Regions from separate parts of the Homo sapiens genome. Here region 1 is linked to region 2. Evidence: promoter capture Hi-C in 16 types of primary human blood cells and fetal thymus (Javierre and others, 2016). All regions are on one chromosome and are shown on one strand. Each heading gives the region's core, a stretch centred on a gene start or on the middle of the fragment in contact. The rest is flanking DNA. Distances are from core to core; before and after follow the strand shown.

Region 1 (6,610 bases), core at 392-2,891, 260 kb before region 2:
TTGGCTGAGAGTACAGAGGGACTTGATACTACCATTCATTTGGAAAAGTAAGTACATGAATAAAAGGCCAAATACCTTTTGAAAGGAAAAACTAATTAGAATTCCCTATATCAGTAAGAGAAAAACATTAAAATCTATAATCATTAAAATACTGTGACATTGATATAGAAATAGATCAGTAGAGTAGAAAAAGACATATAGACATTTAGCTGATGATAAAGGGTAGCTTTTACATCACTGTGCAAAGAACTGACCATTCGAAAAAAAAAAAAGCACTGAAACAACTAGCTATATGGCTGAAAAAAAATCTCATTTCACATAACCAAAAATAAATTCCGGATAAAGACATAAACTGAAGTTGAAAAAGGCTTTCTAAGCATGACACAAAAGCGAGAAATTACAATGGAAAAGAGAGACAGATTGAACAATAAAAAATTAAAAGCTTCAAATAGCAAAAGACAGGCTGAACAAATTTGCAAGGCTATTTAACAGCATCTATCAAAATATGAAATGCAAATTATCTTTTGATTCTATTTCTGGAAACCAATCCTACAGAAATACCAGCACAAGCAAATGAACACAGATATATGTACAAAGATGCTTAACTCAAAGTTGGCAACTGCAAAAAACAAAAACACTCCAACTATTCAAAAGGAGGGGAACAGATAAATCTACAATGGAATAAGATGCAGCCTTTAAGGATAACAAGTATAGATATGATGAAATAAAAATGTCTTCAATATATGCCTTTATTTTATTGTGAAATATGATGCCCCACAGAGAATAGCATAAAACATAAATGTAGAGTTTAATGAATTATAATACCGCCATAGCAAGAATTAGAACATTGTCTGCAACAAATGATTCCCCAAATACTCCATCCTGATCCCAATTCCTTTCACCCTATAGATAACCACTATACCTATTTCCGGGGTAAACATTCCTTGCTTTTATTTAGTTTTAGCACTGAAATGTGCATATCTCAACATGTTTTCTTTTTCCTTTTCTTGAATTTTATATAAATAGTATAAGAAGATATACTTTTTAGTTTGATTTACTAAATATTATATTTTAAAGATTTATTAATGTTGCTGTGTGTCACTGTAGTTTGTTCATTTTACTACATGATGATGTCACTTTTTTAAAACTCATTTTACTGATTTTTTTCCAGGTTGTATCCATTTTGGGGCCATTATGGATGCTTGTTTATTCTTGTACATGCATCCTCATGTACATAAGCATGTATTTATGTTGGGTTAGCATTACTTTCAATTTTATTAGATAATGCTAAAGTGTTCTCCAATGAAACTGTACAAGTTTTTACTCCCACTAGCAATGTAGGAGTTCCCATTGCTCTATATGCTTGACAACTTTAGTATCATCTGATTTTAAATCTTAGCCAATCTGGAGATTATGTGGGGGTATCTTGTGGGTTTTTTTTTTTTTTTTTTTGAGACAGAGTCTTGCTCTGTTACCCAGGCTGGAGGAGTGCAGTGGCACAATCTCGGCTCACTGCAGCCTCTGCCTCCCGGGTTCAAGCGATTCTCTGCCTCAGCCTCCCAGGTAGCTGGGATTACAGGTGCCCGCCACCATCCCGGCTAATTTTTTGTATTTTCAGTAGAGATGGGGTTTCGCCATCCTGGCCAGGCTGATCTTGAACTCCTGACCTCGTAATCCACCTGCCTCGGCCTCCCAAAGTGCTGGGATTACAGGCGTGAGCCACCGCGCCTGGCCCCATTGTTGTGGTTTTAACTTGGGATTCCTTGATAAGGCTGAGCACCTCTTTAAATGTATACAGCCATTTGGTTATATTCTTTTGTGAAGTGCCTATTAAGTCTCTGCCCATTTTTCTATTGGGCTTTGTCTTTCTCAATTTGTCGGGATGCTTGAAATATTCTGGTATAATTTCTTTGTTGGTTTATATAGCTTGACTTTTTGCACTTTCAGTAGTGTCTTTTGACAAACAGAAGTTATTAATATTAATAAACATTATCACCTTTTTCTTCTTTATAATTGGTGCTTTTTCTATTTGATTTAATAATTACTTCTTTATCCTCAGGTCATGAAGATGCTATAATATATTCTAAAAGTGGTATTATTACTATTTGGTGTTTTACACGTAGGTCTACAATTTAGATGGAATTCATTTTTATGTAAATTGTTAAGAAATAATCCACTTCCACTTTATTTTTCCATATGGATCTCCAGATGAGCCAGGATCATTTATTGAAAAGATCTTAATTTCCCCACCACTCTGCAGTGTCAATTTTATCATAAGTAAAATGTACATATATGCACAGGTCTGTTTTTGGACTCTTTATTCTGTTCCATTGGTCTATTTCTAACACTAATACCACTTTGTCTCAATTAATATAGTTTTATAAAGAGCCTTAATAGCTGACAGAGCAAGTCCTCCTAAATTAGGTTTCTAAAAGAGTTTTTGGCTATCCTAATATATACAAATATATAGATACCTAGAAAGAAAGAGAGAAAGACAGACAGACAGGGTCTTGCTCTGTCACCCAGGCTGGAGTGCAGGGGTGTGATCACAGCTCGCTGCAATCTAGAATTCCTGGCTCAAGTGATCCTCCCTGCTTCAGTCTCCCAAGTAGCTGGGACCACAGGCATGTGCCACCACGCCCAGCTAATTTTCAAATTTTTTGTAGAGATGGGGCTTATCATGTTGCCCAGGCTTCACAAGATTTTTAAAACTGGAATTACATTGAATCTATAAAGGAATTTAGGGTAAAAGTTAACACCATACAAACCAGTTTTCCAACTCCAGAAACGTAGTATATATCTACTTTAGATTATTCTTAAATTTCTCCTAATAAAGCTTTATAGTTTACTTTTTAGATGTTTTACACATCTTTTAAAAGATTTACTCCTAGGTTATTACATTTTGTTATTGTAAACAGTATCTCAAAAAATTTGCTTTCAGTTTATTGTTGATCTATGGAAATGCAATTAGGTTTTGTTTATGGATCTTGTTATCTAGCAACTTGCTAAACTCAATGCCTGTAAAGTTTTTACTGGATTTTCTAAATGATCACATCACTTGTGAAGTTTTAATTTTCTAATCCTTACATATTTTCTTGTATTGATTGAGACCTTACTGTATTGATTACTGTATTGATTGAGACCTCCAATACAATGTGGAATAGCAAGGATAATAATGGACATCCCAGCCTTGGTCCTCATCTAAAAGGGAAAGCTTTTCACCATTACATATATTTGTCGATGGGTTTTTGTAGATATCACTAATCAGAGTAAAGAAATTCTTTTCTATTGTTGTTTTGCTAAGAGTTCTTATGAATAGTTGTTAAATTTTATTAAATGTCATTTTTGCTCAATCGAGATGATTTTAAGATTTTTCTCCTTTAGTTCATTAATGGTAAACTATTCTAACTTTCTAATATTAAATCTACTTTGCATTTTGTGTTATAAACCCAACTTTAGTCATAATGTATTATTCCATTTGCTAATATTTTTTTTAGGATTTCTGGAACTATAATAATGAGTAAAACTCCCTGTAATTGTCCTTTCATGATGTGTCATTGCTAGGTGGTATAAAAGTAGCTGATGTGTGTAGTCTCTTTTACTGAAAAAAATTTGTAATTTGAAAATGTATCTTCCTTCTTCTTTTTTTTTTGGACAGGGTTTCATTTTTGTCACCCAAGCTGGAGTGCAGTGGCACAATCTTGGCTCACCCTGTAGCCTTGACCTCCTGGGCTCCAGTGATCCACCCACCTCAGCCTCCTGAGCAGCTGGGACTACAGGCATGAGCCACCACACCCTTGTATAATTCTCTACCCTCAGGGGCCTGGAATCTGTAATATGATGGGATAGCCACTCCACTGATTAGGTTACATTACATGGCCAAGGTGACGTATAGTCACTATCATGATTACAGTTGTGTTATACTGGATTACATCATAGCCAAAAAATTAGTACTGAAGAGTTGGGCACTGCTATAAAGATACCTTAAAATATGTAAGAAGCTTTGGAATTTGGTAACTGGTAGAAGCTGGAAGAGTGTGGAGGGTTGAGAAGAAGACAGGAAGATGAGGGAAAATTTGGAACTCCCTAGAGACTGGTTAAATGGTTGTGACCAAAATACTGATAGTGATATAAACAGTGAAGTCCAGGCTGAAGAGGTCTCAGATGGAGATGAGGAACTTATTGGGTACTGGAGCAAAGGTCACTTTTGTTATGCATTAGCAAAGAACCTGGTGGCCTTCTGCCCCTGTCCTAGGGATCTACGGAATTTTGAACTTGAGCGTGATGATTTAGTATATCTGGCAGAAGAAATCTCTAAGCATCAAAGTAATCAAGATGTAGCCTGGCTGCTTCTAACAACCTATGCTCATACGCATGAGCAAAGACATGACGTAAAACTGGAACTTATATTTAAAGGGGAAATGGACAGTAAAAGCTTGAAAAATTTGCAGCCTGGCCATGTGGTAGAAGAGAAGAGCCCATTTTCAGGGGAGGAATTCAAGCAGGTTGCAGAAATTTGCATAAGTAAAAAGGTGCCAAGTACTGATAGCCAAGACACTAGGGAAAAGGCCTTGCAGGCATTTCTGAGACCTTGGCAGCAGCCCCTCCCATCACAGGCCTGTAAGCCCAAGAAAACAAAATGGTTCTGTGGGCCAGGCCCAGGGTCTGCTGCCCCATGCAGCCTCAGGACACTGCTCTCTGTGTCCCAGCTGTCTAACTCCAGCCATGGCTCAAAGGGACCCAGGTACAGCTTAGGCTGCTGCTTCAGACAGTACAAGCTGAAAGCCTTAAATACATGGTGTTAAGCCTGTGGGTACACAGAGTGCAAGAGCTGAGGCTTGGGAGCCTCTGCCTAGATTTCAGAGAATGTACGGAAAAGCCTGGATGTCCAGACAGAAGCCTAATGCAGGGCCAGAGCCCTCATGGAGAACCTCTACTAGGGCAATGCAGAGGACAAATGTGGGGTTGGAGCCACCACAAATAATCCCCACTGGGGCACTACCTAGTGGAGCTGTAAGAAGAGGGCCACCATCCTACAGACTCTAGAATGGTAGAGCCACCAAGAGCTTGCACCCTGCACCTGGAAAAACTGCCAGCACTCAATAACAGCCCAAGAGAACAGCACATGGGCTGACCTCTGAAAGGCCCACAGGAATGGATTGCCCAAGGCCTTGGGAGCCCACCTCTCACATCAGTGTGTCCTGGATGTAGGAAATGGAGTCAAAGGAGATTATTTTGGAGCCTTAAGATTTAATTCTTCTCCTGTTTGCCCCAAGAATACTTGCTGGCAAAGCTTGCAGTTTCAGCATTTACCCCAAGATAACTTTGCCACAAAACATCTCATTTTTATTATTATTTTCACACTGCTCTAGTATATCAACTTTGAAAACAAAAGACATCATTCTATTTATAGCATTCTGTTTTTAGTAGTGGTATTTCCACTTACAAAATATAGTAATTCTCGATTGCTAAAAATGTCAAATCCTAGAAAACATAGCATTCCTATGTGTGATGTTAACATCATTCTGGAACAGTTGTTGGCCAAAGATTCCTTTGATGAATTCAATTTTTCTGAAATAGACAATTCTGATGATTCAGATGATTCTGATGTTAGTTCTATTTAGAAATAACTCCAAGAACAGTTTTTATATTTTGTTTTCACACTGAAAATCAGTCAGATTTGCTTCAGCCTCAAAGAGTATGTTTATGTAAAATTAAATGAGCACTGGCAGCGAGCTGCACTTTTTGTTTTCTAAATGGGAAAAGGGCTAATGGCTGCTCTGCTGGGTTTCAGACTTGTATGGGGCCTGTAGCCGCTTTCTTTTGGCCAATTTCTCCCTTTTGGAATGGGAGTATTTACCCAATGCCTACACTTTTTTTTTTTTTTTTTCCTTGAGATAGAGTCTCGCTCTGTCATCCAGGCTGGAGTGCAGTGGCACAATCTTGGCTCACTGCAAGCTCTGCCTCACGGGTTCACGCCACTCTTCTGCCTCAGCCTCCCAAGTAGCTGGGACTACAGCCGCGCCACCACACCTGGCTAATTTTTTGTATTTTTAGTAGAGACGGGGTTTCACTGTGTTAGCCAGGATGGTCTTGATCTCCTGACCTCGTGATCCGCCCACCTTGGCCTCCCAAAGTGCTGGGATTACAGCCCAATGCCTATACTTTCATTGTATCTTGGAAGTAACTAACTTGTGTTTGACTTTACAGGCTCATAGGCAAAAGGGACTAGCCTTCTCTAAGATGATACTTTGGGTTTTGGACTTTTGAGTTAATACTGGAATGAGTCAAGACTTCAAGGACTGTTGGGAAGGCATGACTGTATTTTGAAATGTGAGAAGAACATGAGATTTGGAAGGGGCCAAGGGTGGAATGATATGGTTTGGATCTGTATCCCTGCCCAAATCTCATGTCAAATTATAATCCCTAATGCGGGAAATGGAGCCTGGTGGGAGGTGACTGGATCATGGGGGCAGTTTCTCATGGTTTAACACCATGCAACCTTGGTCCTGTCATCAGGATAGTGAGTTCTCATGAGATCTGGTTGTTTAAAAGTGTGTAGCATCTCCCCCACCCAAGTCCTGCTCCTGCCTGCATGTAAGAAGCCTGA
Region 2 (6,677 bases), core at 4,099-6,598:
TTTTAATGTATTTGGAAATCATTGGAAACTAATACATCAACAAGCCTATGCCACATCCTAAGTATTGAACTCAAGCTTAAGATTCCAAAAATTTCTAAAATATGACTACTCAGGTGTAAAGATTCAATTAACAGTACCTGAGGAAATTAAGACATTTAAGGAACATGAACATGTTTGGGGATGTATTTTATACACACTCACTGATTTTCTTCTAGCCATACTAGTTGCAACATTTTAAATAAATTTAGAGACATAACCTCTAGAAACGTAACTTTTAAAAATCTCATCCTGTGTCTTAATTGGTGAGGCGTAAGCAGTATCATATAATACAACCAGATATGACTTCTGTCTCATCAGCTCATATTCACTTCTTGAATATGAACTTCTATTAATTCTTACCGAATTCCCACTGCCACATTTCTGGAATTATAAGGTACTTAATGAAGTATGATTAATTCCCTTTTTCTTCTGTTTGCTTAAATAGTACTAGCCCTTTGAAATTTTCCAGCAGGTCCCTATGTTGTTATCAATAAACAATGAGCTGTATACAAGCTTAATGGTAATAATGTTGATGCTATTCATTTTCTTAACAGAATATTTTACCTAATTCCTTCTGATAATATTAAAATTTAAAAGTACAAGATTTCTTGTTGATCCCTTTCTTGTGCTGATTATATTTCCCTTCTAACTCTCCAAGAGCATATCTGAGCACATACTTGCAGACCTGTCATACTGATGAGTGCAGAGCTCCACCGCAGGCAATCCTAGAGATTGGGATCTTAAATTTCTCCCAGAGTGTCCTACACTCCCCATCCATTCATGGTAAAGTATTTAATTTTAATGTTCTCATTGTTTACCAGAAAGCACAGACAGTGAGGCTGGCTTTGCCACTCCCGTTTCCTTTCGCTATGCTGCTGAGCTTTTTCAGCCAATTGACTTTGCTTTGAGGCTATAAATATCTGAAAAATGTTCTGCATTTGATGCTCTTGGATTCTGTATCCATATTTAGCTGTTTGTGGCATGCCTTTGTTTAAGCTACTCTACCACCCATACAGTCAGTCAGGTTGAGATCTGGATGGTCAAAGGACAAACGGATCAACATACAACAGACACTGACTTACTATGAGCAAGGTACCAATCTGGCAGACAAGTTGACAATGAAGGGGGTGGCAAGATAAGAATACAAAGATAAACAAGGCTCCCTGATATCAAAAATTTTATAGTCTTGACAAGGCATGGGCACAACTTATAATACTGGAATAAAACAAATGAAACATTTTACAACTACAAGGAAATGAAGATTAGGACAGACAGCACAAATATTTTTCTCTCAGCCACATCTCAAAAATGTGCATTAGTTTGTGTTCTAAATATAGAGCCACCTATTATAAAGCTCTGAACATATTCCAGAAAAGTTTTCCAAATCATGGCAATACACAAAACCCTGAGTATACGTATTATGACAATATATACATATGTACACAATATATATGTATTATCAACCAAGGAGCCAAACCTGTCAACAAGAAACTCAAAACAGTGCCTAGTCTTCAAATTTTGTGAGGCAAACTAATAAAATATTGTTTCTAGAAGTTCCTGTTAAGATATTCTTTGGGGGGTTACTTCTGTTGTTGTTTGTTCCCATCATGATTTCAAACAGAAGTATATTGCAGGAGATGCAAATTGCACTTAATAAAGTTCCTTATTATTATCCTACCTTTAGAACCCACATGGCTATGTAGGTTAGGTCTCAAAACTGGATGAACTAGACCTAAGCAACATCGCCATACTCATCTTCCTATCTTGTGAAAACATTCCAAATAAATAAACATCTGCCTTCAATATATCTTCTTTGAAAACTCAGTTCACTGACCTTTTGATAAAACTGCTCCCCAGAATTCCCTGACAATCATGATTTAAATGCATTAAGTTAAGGGCTTGGTTAATGCCTGGCCCCAAGAGCCAGGATAAAGATTATAGGCCAACCTGCAGGTAAAATAATGGGCCAAGCCACAGAATCAGACAACTTTAAAGCTAAAAGGGACCACAGATACCAATTACTCCAGATTCCACTTTTATGCTGAAACCTAGAGGCCATGAGTTAAAACTACCTGCCCAGAATTAGACAACCAACTTGTGGCAAAGCCAGAATGAAACCAATACTCTAAGCTTCTAGTTGTATCCTCTAGACTAGGTTCCCAATTTGTAGATTTCCCTGAAACATGTTAGACTACACTCATCAAAGTCTCTTTAAATTGTGAGAAGAACCTAGGTGATCCAAGACAACGAAGGTTTTGAACACACAGACAAGAAACAAGAAAAACAAAAATTCTGTATTCTCCAAATTGTTTTTCTACATTCTATTACTTTTATTTCAAAGTTTTTACTTCAAAGTTTTCAAACATACACCCTGTTCATACAATAGGCAACTTAAAACTAGCTAAGGACATAGCCAAGAGTCATTCCAATAGTTCTGAAATATTTACATAAACTAAAGACAACAAAATAGTATCCAGGATGAGCTGCCTCAGAGGAAGGAAAGTAGCAATACTAAACAATAAATAAAAACAACTTCTGGTTAATTGATAGAGAAAACAAAAAAAGTTACAATGCAGTGGTAAGTCTGCAATTGGTCACAAAAATGCAAGGCATGGTATGTATATGTGTGTGTCACACACATATACATACCATGCATTTCTGTGATGTCTGATATGAAGTCTTGACATCAATTGAACCACGCAGAAAGAAAACTTCTAAGTCGTGGTCACTCTTGAACAATAAACATATATCCTGTTCAGAAGGACGAAAGAAAAAAAACATAATGTAAACTTGCTCTCACTCTCTCTCTCTCTTACACACACACACACACACACACAAAATATACAATATATATTTCACAAATCAACCCCTAGGAATGGACTACAAAACAACATACATTTGTAGACTTTTATGTCCTTACAAATGAAGAACGATAGTTAACACTAGGTCCAGAGAACCCAGATTGTTTTGGATACTGAAATACCGAATTATCATATACATGTATTCTTAGAATAGCATGGCCCTATTTCTAACATCACACAAATAAACAGTATGCCAAAGAAGTGTGTAAGGAGAGAAAGATGATAGAATGGGAAAACGTTGTAACTACAATATACTCTAATTCATATGCACTTTCAGATTCTCACCAACCTTTGTTCTAAATGACCAGCTAAGTGGGATTTAGCAGGCAGACGGAAAATCAGGCACCAAAGTTTTTAATCTAATTTGCTGAGAACAAACTGGGTGACCTTGCATCGTCTCCCACTCCTTTGCTTTAAATCTTCCGGTACGTAGAGTAACATCAAGAAACAGCCAGCAAAATACAAAGTGGTACACAAATCCTTAAGAACTGGTTATAAGAAGAATTCCTGGATTTTTATGATTAAAAGGGTCACTAGTGATGATTTAATCCAATCCACTCACTTTACAGATGAGGAATCACAAGCCAAAAATGTGACTCGATCTGCCCCAAATCCCATAGCCATTTAGTGGTAGAACTGAGACAAGAACTGAGATCTCTGGACTCCTAGTTCTATGATCTTTGCGATGGACATTAAGTCTTCAAATCAACTGAACTACACAGAAAAAAACCTAAGTCTTGGTCACTCTTGAATAGTAAGCATATACCCTGTTCAGAAAGATGAAAGAAAAAAACATAAGGTACTTGATCACTACAGGCTTAGATGCACAAGACTGCAGGATAACATCTTAACATTGTGTTTGATCCCAGGTGCTTCAAATTTGCCATCTTATACTCAGCCACGTTACTAATGTCTTCTGCAGTCACGTGAGCTAGGCGATAAACATCTTGCCGTTTCAATATTTTGGAAAGCCACAGCTCAGTCCTGAATGCCAGGCTATAAATCCTTAAGCTATGAGTTTTCAAAACCAGCATGGTTTTAGTGCTGCCACAAGGCTCACCCTAATAGAATCTCATCATTCAGTTTTAATTAAAGAGGTGGTTACCAGGAATGCAGAAAGGGAAAGTTTTAGTGTGTTCATCACTTTTAACCTGCTGAGTGGCAACCCAGTCACTTTACAACGAGATTCAGAAACAATAGTGTAATCTGAAACAATCCACACCCGTTGGAATAAGTGGTTGCTTTTAGAGAGAGTGAGGTTCAGGCAGAGGTTATAGATTAGTCTTGCTCCCACCAAATACATAGTTTGCATTTTTTTCATTCATTAGCTTATCCTCTGCTTTTTCATAATATCTTGGTTTCCAGTCTTGCCTCATTCAACAATAAAAAGAGACGAAAATCCATTCACTTGGTTTCATGGAGTTTTTCCATCATACCTTCTTGAAGATTGATTGCCTGGCTGTTCCCTTGAAGTAATCGCCTAAGAATTACGTCTTGGATAGCCCAACTCCCGCATTAAACTTACTGCAGGTGTCTGAAGAGGTCCAAAGACCATACTGAGTGACATCCCTGCCCAAGTGATAGTCTGAAGAAACTTGTCAGAAATGCACCCCCAGAACAAAAAGGGATGTGGGAAACTGACCTAGCACGGATGAGGACTGGGAATGAGCCTGTGACTTAGGGAATGAATTTCAGCCCAAGCAAAAATAGGAAACACCAGCCTCTAAGACGGCCTGTGGTCCTTACCGTACACCCGGACCCAGCTCTGTTGCTGGCACACGGACTCCAGAAGGATCCGATCCAACATGCCACCGGCGACGGCTCCACTGACTGGGACAACCGCGTCCAGGTCCTCCGGGGGCAGCGGCGAGTCGGACTCCAGCGCCGGGAACATCTCCGGCCAGGACAGCGCCTCCGCGGCTCCTCCGGACGACGGAGAGAGCTCCATGGTGCCCCGAGGCGGGAGGGGGACGAGGCGGCGGCTTCGGGGCGGGCTGGCGCGCGGCTCCGCGCCCTGCCTGCGGTAAGGGGAGGAGGAGAGCGCGCAGCGAGGGCAGGGACCCGAGCGGCAGCCGGCGCGGACACCTCTCACCTCCTTCCCCGTCGCCCACTGCCCGAGGCTCGGGCGATGCAGCCCACCTGCAGTCGGCGGGCGGGACCCAGGCCGGGAGGAGGATCCAGCGTGGCCCCGACCAAGGGTGGGTCCGGGCTCAGGTGTGTGTGGGTCCCTCCCGGGAGAGGACGCAGAAGAACCCGGGAGGGGAGGCTCGCCCTCCCACCTCCTCGGAGCCGCCTTCTTCAGCCCCGCCGGCGTCTCTCGCGGTCAGACCAGGCTCTGGCTGGGGATGGAGCGGGGCCGGGCAGGGCTGGGCTTGGGGGCGTCGCCGCCAGGGGCCGCCCCCTCTGACCGGCTCCCGCCGCCGCCGCCTCAGAAGCTCCGAGTGCCCGTTCCCTCAGCCTGAGGAGGGGTAGGGGGCGGTGGCCCCGGGTTCTAGCCCGCCTGTCCTCGGCCCCCACTTCTGGAATGAGCCTGCCCGCCCCCTGACTCTCAGGCCACAGCTCCGGCCACAGCTCTGGCTCCTGCTCCGCGGCGGATCCCACAAACCCGGCAGCCACGGCGGTGGCGGTGGCGGTGGCGGTGGCGGTGGCGGCGGCGGCGGCGGCGGCAGCGGCAGGCGGCATCCCAGGGTGATAGGCTGAAGCAATCGAGGGCCGAGAGCCCGGCCGCGTGTGCACTCGAGTAACGAAGCCGGGGAGGGACTGCGCCGCAGGCAGGAAAAGTCGGACACCGAATTATTCATCCGGCCTGTCCCGCCTACTTTCCAAGTACCCTCCCAGGGATAGCCGGGTATTGAGCGGTCCGGGTCTCTGCTGCTCAAAGTAAAGACCGTTTGAGAAGGCGGGGAGGTAAAAGGGTGCGGGAAATTTAAACAGAAAAGAAAGGAGCTTCCCTTCCTTCTCACACCTTTCCTATTTATTTGTTTCTTTCTTTCTTTATGGGCCAACGTTTCTTTCTTATTGGACAAAGAGATCGAAGAAGCTGCTTTATCTTACAGTCACCCAAGGGGGAGCGCCTTCTTCCTTCCCAGAGTGGAGTGGCAGTGGGTCCGGGATTCTGGGATATGCACAGGGTCTGCGCCCTGCGCCCTGTCCGCGCTGAAGCTGAACTTGTCATTGGTTTGCAACAGCATGGTGAAGAAGTGTGGTGTGGATGGACGGACGGGCCTCTCAGGCACATGAAATACTCAAAGCCCAGTATTAACCAAACATGTTTCTCTGTTTTGTCTTTGATCTTTGTGCAGTGTGTTGGCTTTTTTCCTTTAATGATGTCACTTGTATTTTATTTTTGGTTTATTTGTAGACTGTCTCCCTCCTTGGCCATGGCTTTACTTTTATGTCCACCCAAGGAGAGTTTCACCAGTTTAGGTTTAAGAAATTACTGACAAGTTAACAATAATAATTTCAAAATTGAACAGTAATAACTTAAACCGTGCCTTGGACATAGTAGATCTCCAACAGTTTTTCTTGAATGTGGCTACCTAATGTGGAACAAGATTTTTCATAATTACATGTTGCTATTTTTAATACCTTTTGGGAGGTTCTTTAGTCCCCCCCGCCCTTTCTCCCTACGTTGCACAAAGAGACTGGTCTACAAGGGGTCCTGTTAGTTTTCTGGTTTTGTGGGGTCCTGGAATATTGTTTGGGCTTATTGAGAGTTAACAAGGATGTATTTTGTGAGTTTCTCCAAAGTCTTATTTAGAGTAATAGTATTTCAAA

Evidence for each region. The method cuts DNA at HindIII sites, captures the fragments that hold promoters and counts their contacts. A CHiCAGO score of 5 or more calls a contact.
Region 1: a contact is called between a fragment that was not itself captured here and the fragment with the promoter of RASAL2-AS1 in region 2, in 1 of 17 cell types (M0 macrophages). The highest score is 5.4, in M0 macrophages.

The regions. Positions count from the first base shown.
Region 1 is chr1:178,351,013-178,357,622 of GRCh38, reverse strand. The region is part of intron 3 of RASAL2 (RAS protein activator like 2); the gene reads right to left. Among named protein-coding and RNA genes, the nearest start is that of CLEC20A, 140 kb to the left of the region's middle. The HindIII fragment of the contact is 2,394 bases long and covers 445-2,838 here.
Region 2 is chr1:178,092,664-178,099,340 of GRCh38, reverse strand. It overlaps RASAL2-AS1 (RASAL2 antisense RNA 1), which reads left to right and starts at 5,348. Exons shown (of 2, transcript NR_027982.1): 1 at 5,348-5,780; 2 at 5,929-6,677. It overlaps RASAL2 (RAS protein activator like 2), which reads right to left and starts at 5,237. Exons shown (of 18, transcript NM_170692.4): 1 at 4,647-5,237. The coding sequence starts at 4,848. RefSeq lists silencers at 4,799-4,858, 5,009-5,168, 5,239-5,538, 5,589-5,638 and an enhancer at 5,260-5,761. The HindIII fragment of the contact is 4,675 bases long and covers 2,172-6,677 here.